Regions from separate parts of the Homo sapiens genome. Here all the other regions are linked to region 4. The links are contacts of gene promoters, found by promoter capture Hi-C in blood cells and fetal thymus (Javierre and others, 2016). All regions are on one chromosome and are shown on one strand. The core of a region is centred on a gene start or on the middle of the fragment in contact, and the rest is flanking DNA. Distances in the headings are between cores, read along the strand shown. Region 1 overlaps PCOLCE2 (procollagen C-endopeptidase enhancer 2). Region 2 holds the start of PCOLCE2 (procollagen C-endopeptidase enhancer 2). Region 3 overlaps U2SURP (U2 snRNP associated SURP domain containing). Region 4 holds the start of PLS1 (plastin 1). Region 5 overlaps U2SURP (U2 snRNP associated SURP domain containing).

Evidence for each region. The method cuts DNA at HindIII sites, captures the fragments that hold promoters and counts their contacts. A CHiCAGO score of 5 or more calls a contact.
Region 1: a fragment that was not itself captured here is called in contact with the fragment with the promoter of PLS1 in region 4 in 1 of 17 cell types (megakaryocytes); the score reaches 5.0 in megakaryocytes.
Region 2: the fragment with the promoter of PCOLCE2 here is called in contact with the fragment with the promoter of PLS1 in region 4 in 2 of 17 cell types (M0 macrophages and M2 macrophages); the score reaches 5.4 in M0 macrophages.
Region 3: a fragment that was not itself captured here is called in contact with the fragment with the promoter of PLS1 in region 4 in 14 of 17 cell types (naive CD8 T cells, total CD4 T cells, total CD8 T cells and 11 more); the score reaches 12.0 in naive CD8 T cells.
Region 5: a contact is called between a fragment that was not itself captured here and the fragment with the promoter of PLS1 in region 4, in 4 of 17 cell types (total CD8 T cells, naive CD8 T cells, total CD4 T cells and 1 more). The highest score is 7.0, in total CD8 T cells.

The regions. Positions count from the first base shown.
Region 1 is chr3:142,864,776-142,867,475 of GRCh38, forward strand. All of the region lies in intron 2 of PCOLCE2 (procollagen C-endopeptidase enhancer 2), which reads right to left. Among named protein-coding and RNA genes, the nearest start is that of PCOLCE2, 23 kb to the right of the region's middle. The HindIII fragment of the contact is 1,202 bases long and covers 704-1,905 here.
Region 2 is chr3:142,887,796-142,890,495 of GRCh38, forward strand. PCOLCE2 (procollagen C-endopeptidase enhancer 2) reads right to left here and starts at 1,288. Exons shown (of 9, transcript NM_013363.4): 1 at 1,019-1,288. The coding sequence starts at 1,101. It overlaps LOC124909443 (a long non-coding RNA gene), which reads left to right and starts at 469. Exons shown (of 2, transcript XR_007096122.1): 1 at 469-664; 2 at 1,796-2,700. RefSeq lists a silencer at 1,231-1,280. The HindIII fragment of the contact is 10,419 bases long and covers 1-2,700 here.
Region 3 is chr3:143,007,246-143,009,945 of GRCh38, forward strand. The region is part of intron 1 of U2SURP (U2 snRNP associated SURP domain containing); the gene reads left to right. Among named protein-coding and RNA genes, the nearest start is that of U2SURP, 7.0 kb to the left of the region's middle. The HindIII fragment of the contact is 5,594 bases long and covers 1-2,700 here.
Region 4 is chr3:142,595,048-142,597,747 of GRCh38, forward strand. PLS1 (plastin 1) reads left to right here and starts at 1,346. Exons shown (of 16, transcript NM_001145319.2): 1 at 1,346-1,462. PLS1-AS1 (PLS1 antisense RNA 1) reads right to left here. Exons shown (of 4, transcript XR_001740938.2): 4 at 862-2,250. RefSeq lists an enhancer at 1,402-1,641. The HindIII fragment of the contact is 10,696 bases long and covers 1-2,700 here.
Region 5 is chr3:143,027,101-143,029,800 of GRCh38, forward strand. It overlaps U2SURP (U2 snRNP associated SURP domain containing), which reads left to right. Exons shown (of 28, transcript NM_001080415.2): 14 at 49-153; 15 at 1,240-1,306; 16 at 1,383-1,546. Among named protein-coding and RNA genes, the nearest start is that of U2SURP, 27 kb to the left of the region's middle. The HindIII fragment of the contact is 215 bases long and covers 1,287-1,501 here.

The sequences.
Region 1 (2,700 bases), core at 55-2,554, 270 kb after region 4:
CATCTGGCTTCTTTCACTTAGCATAGTGTCTCTGAGGTCCATGTAGCATGAATTAGTACTGCATACCTTTTATGGCTGAATAATATTCCATTGTATGAATATGCCACATATTTATCCATTTACCCTGTTGATGGGTATTTGAAATGTATCTACTTTTGGCTATTATTAACAATGCTTCCATAAACATCTTTGTACAAGTCTTTATGTGGATGTATTTTCATTTCTCCTGCATCTAAAAGTACAACTGCTTGGTCATATGGTAAATGTTTAACTTTAAAAGAAACTGTTTTCCAAAGTGGCTGTACCATTTTACATTCCTACCAGCAGTGTATGAGAGTTTCAACTTCTTTACATCCTCAACAACACTTGCTATTCTCTGTGTTTTTTTTTTTTGTTAAAGTCATCCTAATGGGTATGAAGTAGTAGCTTATTGTGGTTTTGATTGCATTTCTCTAATGACCAATGATGTTGAGCATCTCTTCATGTGCTTATTGACCATTTATACATCTTCTCTAGTGAAATGTCTATTCAAATCTTTTGCCTGTTTTTTTTTTAAATTGTCAACCCTAAAGTACTTTTAAAATACAAACAGAAAAGCATCAAAACTTAACTTGTAATAAAGATGAACATCTGAGTCACACTGCAAAATCTGGTTTCATACATCCATTTTACGCCAAGAGTGAGAGGCAAGGAACCCCTTACAAGCTTGTTTAATGAAGTTACCCCATACAAAATAAGTGAGTTGACAACAACATCTCTTGAAGAATGCATTGGCTAGGAACACTGGTTTCTCACTTTAATTTCTGGATCAGCCATAATTTCTACAGAATATAAAAAGAAACAACATCCTGTGAAGGATGGAGGGCCTCTCACTGCTTTTTAGAGGATAATATAAAAGAGTAAAAATTAAAACACAAGAAGTTTTAGAAATAACTACAAATACAGATATTATGTAGTCAGCAGGCTCATTATATAAATATGTCAACAAAATCAATGTATGGAGAACTTGGAATAATTTGTGTGACTGGATAGGAAGCAAGGAAATGTGGATATAGTCTTTTAATCTAAGGCTTATTTTTCTCTTTTTAAAAAAGTAGTTCACTTAATATGTTGTTAAGTATCACCATAATAACGATGTCTAAAAGACTCCCTGTAAGCAAGAGAAAAATAGTCCGGATAGGCAAACAGATCAATGGAACAGAAGAGAGTCCAGAAATAGACCCACACATATAATCTTTGGCAAAGGTGTCAATGCTCTTCAATAAGTGTGATGGTTGATTTGTATGTGTCAACTTACTGGGCTAAGGAATGTCAAGGTAGCTGATAAAACATGATTTCTGGGAGTGTGTATGAGGGTTTGCCTGGAAGAGACTAGCATTTGAATCAGTAGACTGAGTAAAGCAGATCCATTCTCAACAGTGTGGGTGCACGTCCTCCAATCTGTTGAGGGCCCAAGTAGAACAAAAAGGTGGAGGAAGGGCAAATTCTCTCTCTCTTCTTCCTTGAGCTGGGACATCCATTTTCTCCTGCCCTCGGATATCAGAACTCCTGGCTCTCAGGCCTTAGGACTCCAGGACTTACGCAGAGGCCCTCCTGGTTCTCAGGTCTCTGAACTTGGACTGATTTACACCACCAGTTTTCCTGGTTCACCAGCTTGCAGAAAGCAGATGGTGGGACTTCTCAGCCTCTATAATTGCATGAGCCAATTCCCATAATCAATCAATCAATAATAAATAAATAAAATATTTTGACTGTTTCTCTGGAGTATCTTGACTAATATAATGGGTACAAGAACAGTCTTTTCAACAAAAAATGTTGAAAAATATGAATCATAACCCCATCTCACACCATACATAAATTAACTTGAGATGAATCACAGACATAAATGTAAAAGCTAAAATTATAAGCTTCTACAAAAAACACAGATATATTACAGGAGTTATTAAGAAATTATTTTAGGCAGCTAGAATGGGTAAAAGAGTCTTCAGTAAGGCTTTTTCTTTTAATAAAAAAGCAGCCCCCAAAACATTTCTTTTCTAACAGAAAATGGCCTGAAAAACCAGACCTGCAAGCATTGACAAGCAAGCAGGCTTGCATATGTAAATGCAGGCAGCTAAGAACCAGGTCCACGCAACAGGGCAGTTCCCACTCCCTTTTCTTTGTTGCCGCGTGTGCAGGTAACATTGTGGCCAGACAGGTAGAAGCCATGTGTACAGGTATCATGGCAACCAGCCAGGTAGAAGCCACATTTGCATAATAAAAGGTTAGGGTGGGAGGGCCAGTTTTTTCAAGGGCTATGTGAATGACACGCCTGGTCAAACCAATCCCCTGGGCCCTATGCAAATCAGACACCGCCTCCTCGAGCCTCCCAGTATAACTGACTGTTTTCCACCATATGTGGCAGTTAGACCTCCCTCTGTAGAGGGAGCTGTTCTCTTCTTTCTTGCCTATTAAACTCTCTGCTCCTTAATCCACTCCACGAGTGTGTCCATGTTGCTAATTTTCTTGGTGCGAGATAAAGGACCCTGGGTGTTTCCCCAGACAAGACAGCCATATCAGAAGAATATCTTTGCAATCTTGGGTAGCAAGAAAGTAGTAACTGCAAGAGTTAAAAACTACTAAATTGGATTTCAAGTGTTTTAATTTCTGCTCATCAAAAGTAACTGTTAATGAGTAGATAAACCACAGATGGAAAAAAAA
Region 2 (2,700 bases), core at 38-2,537, 290 kb after region 4:
AAAAGATAATGTAATTTGAAACATGGTCTAACAATCTGATGTTACCTTCAGAAAGGTGTAGCCTATTAATATAAATAAAAGTTAATGTTGATTAATCAATGCTTGCACCATATAAGGGATCTGAAAATTTGCTAGCTCCTAGAATATTTAAATTATAGCCTGACAAAGCATTCAGTCCAGCGCCATCTGTCTCCATCATAATAACACAAGATTATATATATGTATAATCAAGTCCTCGGCATTGTGGCAAAGTCTTGTAGGAAAATGGTAAATACATCAATTTAACTGGGGGAGTGGGAGAGAAGGTAAGAGCCAGGCTGAATGAGAAGCATGGTTTTAAAGAAAGACAGGCAAGCAATTGGTTAATATAAAAAAAGTTTGTCGTTCCCATATTTGGAGAGATGCCCAGTTCTCCTCCCCCTTTCTGAAAATCACTCGCCATTGGCAGAGCTTCCCATCGAAAGGGAGGCTGATGTTGATGGAGGCTGAAGAGGTGATGCCAAAGTTGGCCACCGGGCAGGTCCCACAGCCCAGCTCCTGGGGCCTTCCAGAGGTTGGCGAAGAGTTAACTTTCCGGAGCGGCTCCCTAGGCGCCGCGCCGCTAGGGTTGTTCCCTAGTTTACGTCTCTGGGCAAAGCCTCTCGGGGAAGGAAAAAAAACAGCGGTAAACCAAAATCCACATATTTGGGCCCCAGTGCTTCCCTCTGGCCCCATAGACACGAGGAGAGGGGAGACACAAGTCAGATTAAGCCCCGCCACGTGGTGGCCAAGCCAGCTGCAGGGCCATCCGGCAGGCCGGGCTGGGGACCCAGGAGGGAGCCCCGCGAGCAAGGATGGGTCCCGAAGTCCCGGGCTTAGCCTACCCGAGGGTGGCGGACGCCTGCACCGCGCGGGAGCGCAGGGTCGAGCGCTGGGTCACCCAGGCGCGCCGAAGCGGGTTGAGTAAAGCAGCAGGCGAGGCTGCAGGGGTGGAGGAAGGGAAAGGAGAGAAAGGGAGCCCGGGCAGGGGTCGCGTTACCTCTCTGGGGACTGCTGCCGCGAGAGCTGGGTGGCGGCAGCCAGCAGCAGGCAGAGTGGCGCCCAGGCGTTCGCGCCCCTCATGGCAGCGTAGACGCTCGGGGTTTGCACCCCACGGCGCGCGCGCCGGCACACACGCCCCTCCGCACCCACCGCGCTCACACCGCCGCTCACACTGGCAGCAGCGCTGGCTCACACCGGCGCTCGGCTGCCCGCGCGCTCCCTCTCACGCGCGCACCGCCGCGGGGCGGCCCAGGTAGCCGGGGGATACGCGGCCGGCAGGGCGGAGGCACTTTTAAAGGCGATTATGGTGCCGTCTGACTCGACGCTTAGTTTCCCCTGAGGAGCTGCTCTGGCAGCCACAGGCCACTGCTGAATATCCCGTTTGTTCTCCGGCGGCAGGAGGGGCGGCTCCGAGGCCAGAGCCGCCCCCTCTCGTGGGGCGGGCGAACGTCTCCTCCCGGCACCCCGGGACCGACGGGTCCTCTCTCGTCCAGCCCTCAGGGACCCCGGGGAGAAGAGGAACCCCTTGCGGAGTGGCACCCCAGCGGCCCGGGCCCCGACGCCCAGAGACGATTCTCAGGGAGGGCTTCTGGTTTTGCTTTGGGGAATGTTTTTCCCAGTTGCTTTTAAATAAAAAGTAATAGCGCTTGCTGGCTGCTGGAAAGCCTGGGGGTCCTTCTTTGTCTCCTTCAAAACCCAGATCCAAGGAAAGAAAGGGAAAAGGGATTTTATTGTATTTTAACTTCTGTGCTTATTCTCCTCTCTCTCTCTCTAGATACTTTTCTTTTTTTTACTGGTATGACAATGACAAGGAAGACAGTCTCTGTGCCGGGATTTAAACACGGGTTTTCAGGCGAGCGATTTCTGTGTGAACTGTCATTAAATGTCAGATAATGAAGACGGAACCAAATCAGCAAATCTCACCATCCCATGTCATGTTCTGAAAATGGTGTTTCTCTGCTTGCATCTCTCTGTTCTTAGACCTTTCCAACAGCATCTTTCTGTGGTATTAACGGGTTAAAATTTACGGAGAATTCGTTTTTCTTAGACGAACAATTCTAGCCTTGTGGAATCAATACTCTCTTTTACTTAATTACAGAAATATAATTTTAAACATTTATTTTGTTAAGAGCTTCCCAATAACCAGGGATTAATAAAAGAATGACAGGAACAGACTAGATTCATAGAGATTTTTAATAATCACCAGCTATGGGAGATACAGCTTAACTTTGATGCCTCACGTTGTTCCTTCTAAATTGTTTTCACCTTTCTAAGCAAGAAAATTAAGTATTAAAGTAGTTCTTATCGAGACTTTATTTCTAATAATGAGCTGTTAAGAATCTAAACACGGGTGGGCGCGATGGCCCACGCCTGTAATCCCAGCACTTTTGGAGGCCGAGGCGGGCGGATCACGAGGTCAGGAGTTCGAAACCAGTCTGGCCAAGATGGTGAAACCCCGCCTCGACTAAAAATACAAAAAATTAGCCAGGTGTTGCGGTGTGCGTCTGTAATCCCGGGTACTCGGGAAGCTGAGGCAGAAGTATCGCGTGAACCCGGGAGGCGGAGGTTGCAGTGAGCCGAGATCACGCCATTGCACTCCAGCCCCGGGCGACAGAGTGAGACTCCATCTCAAAAAAGAAAAAAAAAAAAAAAAGAACCTAAACACTCCTGGCAAGGAAG
Region 3 (2,700 bases), core at 25-2,524, 410 kb after region 4:
TCTGCCTTTTCACTTCTTCCTTTTGTATTTTTCTTTTCTTTTCTTTTTTTTTTTTTCCAGAGACAGGGGTTCTTGCTATGTTGCCCAGGCTGGTCTTGAACTCCTGGCCTCGAGCAGTCGTCCCACCTCAGCCTCCCTAGTAGCTGAGATTATAGGCATGAGCCACTCCCTCCAGCAGCTTTTGGGTCCTTTCAAGAGATTTTTTTTTTTTTTTTTTTGAGACAGAGTCTCGCTCTGTCGCCCAGGCCTGCAGTAGTGCTATCTCAGCTCACTGCAAGCTCCGCCTCCCGGGTTCACGTCATTCTCCTGCCTCAGCCTCCCGAGTAGCTGGGACTACAGGTGCCCGCCACCGCACCTGGCCAATTTTTTGTATTTTTAGTAGAGACGGGATTTTGCTGTGTTAGCCAGGATGGTCTTGATCTCCTCTGACTTTGTGATCCGCCCGCCTTGGCCTCCCAAAGTGCTGAGATTACAGGCGTGAGCCACCGCGCCCGGCCGACTTCAGGAGATCTTTAGGCATCATTGGTTTGTGTTCTTCAGTTAAAAATAAAAAGCCAAACTCAAGACAAAGAATACAGTTCAGTTCCAGGTTAGGAAGAGGGAGAAGCTCAGCTTCTGAAGTAGTGCTATATTTACTGTTTACCTTGACTGTTATCTTTAGAAGTTGATGATTATTTTAAAAATTGTGTTAACTGCTGTTTGAACTGTTAAAGTTCCGTGCTGAATGCTATGTAGCTGTAGGTATGTATCAGTGGAAAATGTCTGGTTTGCAGTAAATGTGATTAGTGACATCTTAAGCTAACTGAAATCAGCTGGTGCATTGTCCTACACCGGTGCATTGTGCTACACTATGCTGTTACTGCTCTGTTTGCAAATTTATCAAATTGTGTAATTTTGAAAGCTGACAAAATTGTTACTTTTGAACTGATTATTTTTGTATTAGAGATTATTTAATTTGGTGAATGGTTACGCAAGTGAGATCCTTGAAGATTATAGAGCTTCATCTTTTGATGACTTGGAGTCAGGGAAGAGTTAACTATATGGAAATAGGCAGAATGCCTAGGTTCTTGTATCTTTTGTTTTTAAATCCTAGAAATGATGATTTGGATGTGGTGGCATCAAAGACTACAGAAAGGGTAGCGCTTTCTTAGTTATTCTTTTGGATGCTTATTCTTTCTGGGTGAACTTTAGAATTGTTTTGGCAATTCTTTTGCCCCCTTGCAAATATTTCCCTTTGGAATTTAGAGCGGTTGAATGAAATTGTATTAAATATGTAAAGAAATTTAGGTGTCATTGACATTATCTTAATATTGAATTTTCCCATCCAGTAATATGAATCTTTTGAAAAGGTGGCTTGAGTAACTGGATTTTTCTCGAAGTTTTTGTTTTCTTCACAAGGGTTATATACATTTCTTAAATTGGTTTCTAGATGTTTTTATATTTTTTGTTGCTTTTATGATTAGGATGTTTTTGTTGCTTAGCAAGTTAATACTGGTGTATTGGAAGGCAATTGAGTTTTTTTTGTTACTATTGTTTGTTTTTGATATGGAGTCTCTGTCGCCTAGGCGGTAGTGCAGTGGCGCGATCTCAGCTCACTGCAAGCTCTGCCTCCCGGGTTCACACCATTCTCCTGCCTCAGCGAGTAGCTGGGACTACAGGCGCCTGGCTAATTTTTGTATTTTTAGTAGAGATGGGGTTTCACCAGGTTTGGCCAGGATGGTCTCCATCTCTTGATCCACCCGCCTCGGCCTCCCAAAGTGCTCGGATTACAGGCGTGAGCCACTGCACCTGGCCCAGGCAGTTGATTTTTTTCAGTCCCTTCAGCCTCTTGCCTGAACTTGTTTTTCTTTTGTAAGAGTAGTTATTTATTCTTTTGGATTTTTAAATTTCTAGATATTTGTAAATTTATGCATTTCAAGATATGTTTCAGGGTGTGTTTCATAGTTAATAAATACTAAAAATTTTCTTTTATACCACCTTGACATTTAAGAAAGATTAGCCGCTAGAAGAAAATCAGGGTGGACACAAAAGTTGGGGACAGAAAAACCATGGACAGAAAGAGTGAGATGGGGCCGGGTGCGGTCGCTCATGTCTGTAATCCTAGCACTTTCAGAGGCTGAGGTGGACAGATCACCTGAGGTCAGGAGTTCGAGACCAGCCTGGCCAACGTGGTAAAACTCCGTCTCTACTAAAAATACAAAAATTAGCCAGGCATGGTGGTGCGTGCCTGTACTCCTAGCTACCCAGGAGGCTGAGGGAGGAGAATTACTGGAACCCGGGAGGCGGAGGCTGCAGTGAGCCGAGGTCGCGCCACTGTACTCCAGCCTGGGAGACAGAGTAAGACTCTGTCTCAAGAAAAAAAAAAAATGAAAGAAAGAATGAGATGGGAGGGGTCCCAGTGCTTGGTTGTCCTGTTGTCCTGGGCTGATTTTTGCCTATGCTAATGCGCAATACAGTGGAGTTCAGAGGAGTAAATTGATTCAGTGTAAAAATCTTACCAGCTGTTCTTAGCCTTATGTCTGGACAATGTAAATAAAACAATACTGTATGGATCTTTGCTCTTTTTTAAATAACATGAATCTTCAGTTTTTCTCTTAAACTAATATTTTATCTTGTACTTTATATGACATCTTGTCTGGGAGTTGGGGTCAGGTGAGATATTTGTGATCTCAATATTCTTGATTTCATTTGAACATTTGA
Region 4 (2,700 bases), core at 96-2,595:
ATATTGAGTCCTGTGTGAGAGTATTTCTTCTTTTTTATTGTTGAGTAGTATTGCATTGTATAAATATACCACAATTTGTTTTTTCATTTACATGTTGTTGGACAGTTGGGTTCCTTCTGGTTTGGGGCTTTTGTGAAAAACAGCTGCTATGAGCATTCCTGTTCAAGTTTTTGTGTAAGCATATGTTTTAATTTCTCTTGGATAACATCTAGGAATGAAATGGCTGGGTCATATGTTAGATGTATGTTTACCTTTTAAGGAAATATTTTGCTTTATTTTGTGAGAACTTACTTAACTCCCCTTGCATATCTAGATAAATAAGTATCAGATAAGGATACTAAATTTACCAGATTCTCTAGGTGGCAGGTGGGAAAAATCAGATAAGAATACTAAATTCACCTGATTCTCTAGGTGGCAGGTGGGAAAAATTCCTTATCTTCCCTCTCCATGGCCCACCTACTTTCATAGTTCATTGCTCGTCCAATTTGTTTGAGTTCTTAAAATAATTTCAACTTCCCCCCTTTATTTTTTCTATTGTTACCATCTCAGGGTTGGTTGGGTGCCTATTCTGTATTGGATATTGTGTTAGGCGCAGAAGGGGCACGTGGGACTTTGAGTTAAAGGGGCAGCAAAACCTTGTTCTGTTCTCTGGACTGAGTTGGACAGACCACAACTACGGATTATGCTTCAGGCAAAGTATGTGAGAACTCTTGAGGCAGCATTCCATTTACCTGACTCACATGCGAGAGAAAATATCCCACTTTTGTTTGAGTGTGGGCTTTAGTTATATATTTATTTTAATCAGGTGTGGCTGTTAAAGGAAAAGGAAGCAATCCGTGAAACAAACGGAAAAAAAAAGAGTAGGGGAGAGAAACAAGTCTTCCTTTAATAACGTATACCTTTCCTTTTGACCAGCAGGTCCCAAAGTGTGGTACCCAGACTAGTAGCACCAGTTTTCGCTGAGAACATGTTAGAAATGGGAACTGTCGCGCTACGCTCCAGACCTAACTGAATCGGAAACTCAGTTTCCGGGTTTGGGATCTGTGATTTAAAAAGCTCTCCAGGTGATTCTGATCCACGCTCAAGTTTGAGAACTGCTGTGCTAAACTCATTCCCAGGGTGTAGGTGGTCATCTTTAGACTTGGGTAACTGTGGGCGGTAGAGATAACGTTGCCGCAGCGCCCGTCCACCTCTCCCCATCCACGCTCCCAGCGCCTGCAACTCCTCTTTCACCCTTAGCCTAAACCCAGGTTCTGGGCTTCCCTTTCCCTCCCCTGGGAGCCGCAGGCAAAACGCGGCAAGTGGATTCAGAGTTTGCGGGCCCGGGTGCCGGCCGAGCATGCGCAGTGGCGCGAGCGCAGCGGCTACGCGGGCGCGGAGAGGTAGCCGCAGAGTGGACCTGCAGGTACTTGGATCTCCAGTGGGAGCTGCCCTCTCGAAGGCAGGACAGCGGTGGCGGCAGGTACGCGGGGGTGGGGATAGGGCCCAAAAGGAAGGCTGGACAGACAGATGGAAAGCGAAGCGTTACTCCTTTGGGGGCGCGCGGCGGCTCGGGGGCAGTATCTCCGGGTCCCCTCGCTCGCGTCTCGTCTCCTGGCTGTGCAGTGTGGCGCCCGCCGTCCTCTGGGCACGCTTCTGCCCAGTCCCGGCAGGCAGTGCCCGCAGGTGTTAAATCGCGTATTTACACTGCTTAAACAATAAGCCTGTTAACTGAATTGTGATTCTATGCAATGAAATAAGGTATTTCATTAAGTTTTCTTCTTTCAACTTTGGGTGGCTGCCGGTGAGGCTTTCTGAACCAGCCTGTTTTGTTTTAATTCTGGGACTGGTTTATTTGCCTTTGGCCTTTTGGTGCATAGGATCAATAGGGCTGTAGTGAAATCCCATCCGTGCTGTTTTTGGTACCTTTCCTGGAGCATAGGGACCTCTGGATGCGGCATAAAAATGTCAGTTTTCAGCGAATTTCACTGCCAAAAAACTTTCCGTGTTTCAGCTGCATTTTCAAGTGGAGACTTAAAAAAATTTAAGATTTCTCCCTAACTTTTCAATTATTACTGTATTTCGGTCTTCATTTGGTACTATTAAAAGGAAGCGGTCGTTTAGATGAGTAACAGAATTCTCACTTTTCCTCCTTTACTTACTTACTATGTCACATTTTATGGCTTATACCGTGATATCTTTCCCTCCAGCCACGGTGTTGGATACACTTGTATGAGGCTTCAGCTGTGCTGCATAAATTTCTTGAAGAACCTGTGAGCCAGAAGCAAAATTTCAGGACAGGGGGCACACACTGAACTTGAAGCAAGTACTTTTACACCCCCCACCACCTTTGTAATCAGCTTTCCTTTAAGTTGAATTATGTAATGAAATTCTATAGTAAAGTGTTAATGTGTAATGTGGAGGCATATATATATATAGAGAGAGAGGTAGTAAGTTTAGGAAGAGGAAATTTTAAGTTCAGGAAGAGAAACCTATATGGAAAGGGAATACAGGTATCCTGCCCCCCTTCATTCCTCCCATGATAAATGTTTTAATGGCAGAAATAATATACAGCTGGTCTAGTTTTGGCTGTAGAGACCTTTGAGGTCAGCCAGTTCAGCTGCTTCAGTTTACAAATGAGAAAACTGAGACCAGCGAGGTTAGATGACTTGCTGTGGCCACCCAAGCCCCTCATTGGCAAAGCTAGGCCTGGGATCCAGG
Region 5 (2,700 bases), core at 144-2,643, 430 kb after region 4:
ATAGTGGTAGGTCTGAATCCATTTTCTTTAACTGTGTTGTTGTTGTAGGAATTTGCTCGCCCTGATACATCGAATGATAGAGTTTGTTGTACGTGAAGGGCCAATGTTTGAAGCTATGATTATGAACAGAGAAATCAACAATCCTATGTTCAGGTGTGCATTTTTTAAAAATTGTGAAATATATGTAACATAAAATTTCCCATTTTAACTATTTTTAAGTATACAGTTCAGTGTCATTAAGTACATTCACATTGTTGTACAACCATCACCACCATCCATCTCCAGAACTTTTTTCATCTTCCAAAATGGAAATTCTTTACCTGTGTAGCAGTAACTCCTCAGTCTTCTAGCCCGTTAGCCCCGGCAACTGCCATTCTACTTTCTGTCTCTTAGTAATTTCATTACTCAGGGTAAACTCACATGAGTATAATCATACAATATTTGTCCTTTTGTGACTAGCTTATTTCATTTAGCATAATGTCCTCAGGATTCATCTGTATTATAGCATGTATCGGGATTTCCTTTTTTAAGGCCAAATAATATTCCATTATATGTATTTACTATATTTTATCTTCAGGCATGCAGTTTAAAACTACTTTTAATTTATTAGAATTAAAAATATTTCCAAGAATAAAGTTGTAAAAGTATGGGATTAGTTCTGCAACGGGATGGGAAGACAGTTTTAGTAATCAGAGTAGAATGTATTGAGGACAATTTTCCATCAGATTTTGATTTGGTTGATTAAATAGTATTGTTTTTAGCATTCTCTAGGAGGAAAATACATTTCATTATGCTTTTCAATGAAGGAATCATAAGTGAGATACAGTTGAACAAATGAGTTTTAAAATAAATTGCTTATCCTCTGAATTGTTACGGTATTCTTAGACACTAGTTTAACACTTAAGTAATGTAAAATCACTGCTTTTGTAATTACATATTGGGAAAATCTCTCCATTGCCAGACACAGTATCTGCCATGTAAGTGTTCAGTGAAAACGATCATAAGACTCATGATGCATGCCTTCTGAGTATTAATGTCAGTCACTAAGGCAGTCTAGGGCTGCAGTAAAGGAATGGGGATAGGTAGCGGGTGGTAGTGGGTGAGATTCTCTTCAGGGATCTTTGTTTTTGTTTTATTTAGAACTAAATAGGCAAATAATATTTCTCATTTATTTATATTTAATTGAAGATAGCTCTTTGTTAAAGAATATGATGTTTAATGTTTGTTTGTTTTGTGTAGGTTCTTATTTGAAAACCAGACACCAGCCCATGTTTACTATAGGTGGAAGCTTTATTCTATTCTGCAGGCAAGTAGAATCAATTACTTTGTTAATTTTGACTCTGAGTAATTAGACCTTTATAATAACTCTAAATGTTTGTTAGGGAGATTCTCCAACTAAATGGCGGACGGAAGATTTTCGTATGTTCAAAAATGGATCTTTTTGGAGGCCACCACCATTAAATCCGTACTTGCATGGAATGTCAGAAGAGCAAGAAACAGAAGCTTTTGTAGAGGAACCTAGTAAAAAGGGAGCACTTAAGGAAGAGTAAGATATTTTTCCTTTCTATTATATATTCAGAAAAGTAACTGTAATGGTTGCTTTAATTAATGGTCTTATTAAGATGTTAACCCTAAAATAAATTTTTTTCACTTGTGAATGTTTAAAATAGTAACATCTTTCATCATGTGCTTTATAATTTTAAACATCCTAACAAGTATAGGTGTGTGTCCTGTTGTCCTTGAGTTTTCTCCTGGTAAAATTAGTGATGATCTCTTAAACATGATTGACTTATTTCTTTAGCATTGGAGTACTTCAGATTCTTACAGAAATTATTGGAGGATCCCTAGAATTCTTGCTTCTCTGAATGCAACATAAAGAAGAAAAACTATTGTGTGGCTAGTGGGATCAGATTGTGGCTATGCAAAGCCGCTACATGATAACTTTCACACTTGATTTGCAGTGTGTGGTGAGCTGTGAGATGGCCACCATGGAAGTATGTGTTGTTATTAGTCTCACTTAACAATTGTACAGTGCAGCTAGCTGGTTTAAGAAGCAAAAACATACTTATTAAATGTTCAGAGGACATCCTGTATACCTCATGGGAAAACATTGGCTAAAAGCATTTTTAGAATATAGAATTAAGTACAGACATACTTAGTTTTATTGCGCTTTGACTTACTGTGCTCTGCAGATACAGTGTGTTTTATAAATTGAAGGTTTGTGGCAACCCTAAGTCAAACAAATCTGTTGTCATTATTTTTCGAACAGCATGTGCTTACTTCATGTCTGTCACATTTTCATAATTCTCACAATAGCTCAAACTTTTTCATTATTATTGTATCTGTTATGGTGATCAGTGATCTTTGATTGTTTTGGGGCACCACAAACTATGGTCATATAAGAAGATGAACTTAATCAAAAAAGGTGTGTTCTGACTGTTCAGTGACTAGCTGTTTTCCCTTAGGCCTCCCTATTTCCTGAGACACAACACTATTGAAATTAGGCCAGTTAATAATCCCACAATGGCCTCTTGAGTATTCAGGTGAAAGGAAGAGTCTCACTTCTCTCACGTTAAATCAAAAGCTAGAATGATTAAGCTTAGTTAGGAAGGCATGTCAAAAGATGAGGTTGGCTGAAAGCTAGGCCTCTTGCACCAAACAGTGAGCCAAGTTATCAATGCAAAGGAAGAGTTTTTAAAG